2 separate regions of the Homo sapiens genome follow, and region 1 is linked to region 2. The links are contacts of gene promoters, found by promoter capture Hi-C in blood cells and fetal thymus (Javierre and others, 2016). All regions are on one chromosome and are shown on one strand. The core of a region is centred on a gene start or on the middle of the fragment in contact, and the rest is flanking DNA. Distances in the headings are between cores, read along the strand shown.

Region 1 (2,854 bases), core at 241-2,740, 330 kb after region 2:
ACTCATTTTAAAAGGTTGTGTTCTAGAACTTTATTCCGTAATTTTAATTTCATTCAAAAATGGAAATTTTCTACGTAACGGTAGCAGTGATCTAAACCCCAAGTAGGAGAAACTTGGTTCTCCACTGAAATCACAACTTTTTCTGCAGAGGCTCACATCTCACAGAGTCCATCTTGCCAAGACTGAGAAAACTGATCGAATGACCTTAACTTTGAAAGTATAAACATTAAACAGTTACGCCAGGTAATACGAATTTTCAGTAGCTCCAGGAATTGAGATTCAACAACTCAGCTGTATTAAGAGCACACTAAGGTATTTTAAGTTACATTAAAATAACTTGAACCGGCCGGGCGCGGTGGCTCACGCCTGTAATCCCAGCACTTTGGGAGGCCAAGACGGGCGGATCACGAGGTCAGGAGATCGAGACCATCCTGGCTAACACGGTGAAACCCTGTCTCTACTAAATATACAAAAAATTAGCCGGGCGTGGTGGCGGGCGCCTGTAGTCCCAGCTACTCCAGAGGCTGAGACAGGAGAATGGCGTGAACCTGGGAGGCGGAGCTTGCAGTGAGCCGAGATCGCGCCACTGCACTCCAGCCTGGGCTACAGAGCGAGACTCCAACTCAAAGAAAAAAATAATAATAAATAACTTGAACCTGTGATCACTTGAGTAGATTGTAGGTGAACAGACCAATAATAGTGCAGTGTATTTTTCCCCTCACGTATAAAGACCAACACACACACACACACACACACACACACACACACACCCCACAAGGTGCACAAAAGAAACTATCATTTTCCAAACAGTGTTTTAGGCCAGTGTGAGCCATAATGTAAAAAACAAACAAAAAAACCCCCACAGAAACAACAAAATGCTAACAACAACAACAAAATCCAAAACCATTTCACAATGGTCTACTTGTTACTCCTACAACAAAAACTACAGGAGAAAATCAAGTTTCGTTCCTTCTTGATGACAAAACAATGGGCTACATTTTATGTCTACTTTTGCATGCACCCGCTAACCTGCCTTGTGAGGAGTAGATTAAAGCCACCCGGGCCCCCATCCTCCCGGCTGGAGGGTCGGTGAGGCCTGGATGGGTAATTGGAGAAAGCCGTGACAGGCGCAGGTGCTGCCCTTAACCAACCCAAGCACTGCCCTCTTAGAGGTCGGGTGCAGCTCGCGGGAGGCCTGTGACGCAGTTTCTGGTGACACCAGGATTGGATGCAGCTGACCAAGCCTCACGCGCCCACCAGCTCACCTGGCCCCCAGCGCTCCCTCCAGGCTGCCTCCCCGCTAGGTGGGCCCTTGGGCTCCTCACCGGATGATCTGGATACCCTCCTTCCACACCTGGTGCACTGGATTTCAGCGGCACCCCAGGGCTGACTCTTCCTCCCCATTCGCTGGTAGGAAGACCTAGAAGGCCCAGTCTTCGAAGCCTCTGCCGCCATCGCTGTCTCTTTCTTCTGGAACAACCGCCGAGTGCGAGTCCCGGCGGCCCTCGCGGCAGCGACCAATCATTGGAGGCCAGCCCCTGCAGATAGCCAAACAGTGGGCCGGGAGATTAAAGCCCGCCCCCAAGCTCGCTCCTGATGGGGCTGGGGCTGTTTTCCGTTATCCTGGGAGGTACCACTCCTAGAAGGGGCGCCTTGTGGCCGTTGAGGACCGTTCGTTTTTACGTTCTACCCAAAGAGTCACCACTTTAGTGCTTTTAGTCATCACAAATTAAAATTTCGCATATTATTACTTACATTGTGAGTGACTTTATAGATAATCATTTGGATTGAAACAATCCCCTTTCCCTATTACGTGTCAGGGCCAGAAGCCCTAAACCTGTGTGCTTCGGGCATCCAGGGCTTGGCCAATAGCAGCTGGAGTGGAGAAGCTAATGAGAAGCTATCGTTGGGGTAGATTCAGTGAACGCTTTCGAATTAAGGAGTGTTCATCATTACTAACTGCTGTTGAGCCTAATAATATACAAGGCAGCGTGCCAAGAGTGGTTGGGGATGCTAAGAATTTATGAACTAGCAGGTTTCTGCTTGAGAGATACATAACTCCTTAAAAAAACCCAGTAACTTCCGCCAAAATAAGTGTTATGTACCGGACCTGTGTTAGAGACAGTAAGAATTAGCCTTCTGGGCCCGGCGCGGTGGCTCACGCCTGTAATGCCAGCACTTTGGGAGGCCAGGGCGGGCAGATCACGAGGTCAGGAGATCGAGACCATCCTGGCTAACATGGTGAAACCCTGTCTCTACTAAAAATACAAAAAAAAAAAAAAAAAAAAATTAGCCGGACGTGGCGGTGGGCGCCTGTAGTTCCAGCTACTTGGGAGGCTGAGGCAGGAGAATGGCGTGAACCTGGGAGGCGGAGCTTGCAGTGAGCCGAGATCATACCACTGCACTCCAGTCTGGGCGACAGAGCGAGACTGCGTCTCAAAAAAAAAAAAAAAAGAGTTGAAGCAACTTGTCCAAGCATAGTTCACAAAAAGCAATGAAGAAATGAAGTCAATATGGTCTACGGTGGTATGAAAACTCTTCGTAGAGGATATAGGGTTTGCACTAGACCTTACAACCTAGGTAGTACTTACAGGAGTAAACAAGAACTAAGGGATTCCAAGAATAAAGAACACATCAGCGAGGGAAGGTAGATGTGAGGGAAGGTAGATGGAAGACACAGTGACTTCTTGAGAATTTAAAGACCATTTAGCCAGAGTATGAGTTTCCTTAAAGTAAGCTTCTTTGGAGAGGTGTGTCAGGGAAGAATTTCGGAGAATCTCGAGTGTAAGGCTGAGGAGTTTGGACTTTACTCTTTAAGCAGTAGAGTGCATGAGACGTTTTGTGAGCAAGGAAT
Region 2 (2,891 bases), core at 267-2,766:
CCACTGTCTGTGTTGATGTGTTAGCAACACGCTGCGTTGACATGACTCGTGGAACCTGTGAAGAAGCTGGTCTCATAGTACTAAATGGTACTCTAGGAGCACCTGGGCGGATAGCACTGGGCTTATTTTGGAATGGATGAGGTCTGGCACCCTGAGCAGTCCAGCGAGGACTTGGTCTTAGTCGAGCAATTTGGCTAGGAGGATAGTATGCAGCATGGTTCTGAGTCTGTGGGACAGCTGTCATGAAGTAACCTGAAGGAGGTGCTCGCTGGTTGGGCACAGCTCGTACACTTGCCATTCTCTGCATATACTCGTTAGTGAGGTAAGCCTGGCGCTCTTCTTTGCGCTGAGCTAAAGCTACATACAATGGCTTTGTGGCCACAATTCTACCGTTCATTTCTGTAACTGCTTTAGTGGCTTCTTCTGGGGAGGAGAAACATACAAAACCAAACCCTTTGCTGCGACCACCTTCCATCATAACCTTTGCACTAGTGATTGTACCAAATGGAGAAAACGCTTTCCGGAGACGTTCATCATCAATACCATCATCAAGATTTTTCACATAAAGATTAACAACCTGGTATCTGGTGATCCTATCTTGCTTCATCTGTTCAAATGTGCGCTTAAGTTCCGTCTGCCGTTCCACTTTTTTCTGAGCTCGACCAACGTAAATTTGTTTTCCATTGAGCTCCTTTCCATTCATCTCATCTACAGCTTTCTGTGCATCTTCATGCCTTTCAAAGCTTACAAATCCAAATCCTTTGGATTTTCCACTTTCATCGGTCATTACTTTCACACTTAAGGCGGGCCCGAACTTGCCAAAGAGATCCTTAAGGCGCTCATCATCCATGTCTTCTCCAAAATTCTTGATGTAAACATTGGGGAACTCTTTTGCCCTAGCTCCAAGTTCAGCTTCTCGTTCTTTACGAGACTTAAATTGTCCAACAAATACTTTGCGACCATTTAGGAGCATTCCGTTCATTTTTTTAATAGCTCTTTCAGCTGCTTCGTGTGTCTCAAAGTGTACAAATCCATAACCCTTGGAACCATTTTCATCACAAACCACGTTACACGAAAGGATGTTACCAAAAGCAGAAACTGTATCATACAGTGCTTTATTATTAATGGACTTATCCAGATTTTTAACGAATATGTTGCCCACTCCACTTTTTCGAAGTGATGGATCACGCTGAGACCACATGATGCGTACTGGCTTGCCCTTTATAACATCAAAATTCATGGTGTCCAGAGCATGCTCCGCGTCCTTCGTATGCTGGAAGTTCACATACGCGTAGTTGGAGGAGCCGCTGGTGATCAAGTCCCTGCAGATCCGGATGGAGAGGATGGGCCCTGCCGGGCTGAACTTCTCGTAGAGCATCGCCTCAGTCACGTCGGGGTGGAGGTCCCCCACGTAGAGCGAGGCCGTTGGGTAGCTGGGGGTGCTGGGGTTCATTCTCGGCACGGCTGCCCGCAGGCACACAAGCCGCGACCTTTCCGTTACAGGAGTAGAGCGCGTGCCGGGGCCGGGGGCGTAGCCGGAGGGAGGGGAGCGGGGGCAAGCGCAGAGGGACAAAAATCAGCCGAAATCGAAAACTACTCAACGGCCGCAGAACGGGGTCGATCCGCTGCCGCTGGCTGCCGGCTGCCGGCGGGGAGCCAGGGTAGCGGTGTCGGGTCCGGGCAGCAGGAAGGCCTTGGTCTCTTAGTTCCTTCTTGGAGCTGCTGCGGGGCCGCTGGCGGGCGGCTCGGGCTCAGCTGCTTCACCGGGTTATTTTGTAAAAGAGCATTAATGATTTTTCTAAAATGATTTTTATAATCCAAATTTAAAATGCCTGGGAAAAAAATAAATGAAAGAATTTTTTTCTCCTTTCTCCTTTAGTATGTTTTTATATATGTTCTACTTTACACAAATATATTTTTATAAAATATTTTCTACTTTTTACCTCGTCTCTACTAAAATTACAAAAAATTAGCTGGGCTTGATGTGCTCACCTGTAATCCCAGCTACTCGGGAGGCCTAGGCACGAGAATCGCTTGAACCCGGGAGGTGGAGGTTGCAGTGAGCAGAGATCGCGCCACTGCCCTCTAGTCTGGGTGACAGAGCGAGACTATCTCAAACAAACAAACAAACAAACAAAAAACCCCGAAAAACCGACTTTTTATATTATATAACAATATAAAACATAATAAATATGTAATTTTATTTTTCATTTATTTATTTTTATTTTACTTATTTATTTTTGAGACGGAGTTTTGCTCTGTCACCCAGGCTGGAGTGCAGTGGTGCGATCTCGGCTCACTGCAACCTCCACCTCCCAGGTTCAAGCGATTCTCCTGCCTCAGCTTCTAAAGTAGCTGGGATTACAGGCACCCACCACCAAGCCTGGCTAATTTTTTGTATTTTTAGTAGAGACGGGGTTTCACCATCTTGGCCAGGCTGATCTTGAACTCCTGACCTCGTGATCCACCCACCTCGGCCTCCCAAAGTGCTGGGATTACAGGCGTAAGCCACCGTGCCCGACCAATAAATATGTAATGTTAATATAGTATTATATGATATAGTCTTTTGAGGTCAGGTTGGGATTCATTATTAAGTATACGTTTTATGATTATAAGTACACAATCTTGTGACCTAATATAGCTACACATCTAAGTAAGTGATGATCTGAAATAATTCTATTTAAGAAAATCCTTTAAGAAAGGTCCAGTCCCACAAAAAATATCAGTTTGGGGGAGGATCTGTTCATTCTGTTCATGTTACAAATAATTTATTTTAGGGTTTTTTGTTTGTTTGTTTGTTTAGATAGAGTCTCGTTCTGTCACCCAGGCTGTAGTGCAGTGGTGCGATCTTGGTTCACCGCAACCTCCACCTCCCGGGTTCAAGGGATTCT

What was found. Contacts are between HindIII fragments. The CHiCAGO score rates a contact against its expected background, and 5 or more counts as called.
Region 1: a contact is called between the fragment with the promoter of RNF17 here and the fragment with the promoter of PABPC3 in region 2, in 6 of 17 cell types (erythroblasts, M0 macrophages, M1 macrophages and 3 more). The highest score is 7.6, in erythroblasts.

The regions. Positions count from the first base shown.
Region 1 is chr13:24,762,805-24,765,658 of GRCh38, reverse strand. It overlaps RNF17 (ring finger protein 17), which reads right to left and starts at 1,490. Exons shown (of 36, transcript NM_031277.3): 1 at 1,326-1,490. The coding sequence starts at 1,455. The HindIII fragment of the contact is 5,895 bases long and covers 1-2,739 here.
Region 2 is chr13:25,094,761-25,097,651 of GRCh38, reverse strand. PABPC3 (poly(A) binding protein cytoplasmic 3) reads right to left here and starts at 1,516. Exons shown (of 1, transcript NM_030979.3): 1 at 1-1,516. The coding sequence starts at 1,453. It overlaps LOC124900613 (a long non-coding RNA gene), which reads right to left and starts at 2,032. Exons shown (of 3, transcript XR_941762.3): 1 at 1,993-2,032. RefSeq lists a silencer at 1,307-1,601. The HindIII fragment of the contact is 7,788 bases long and covers 746-2,891 here.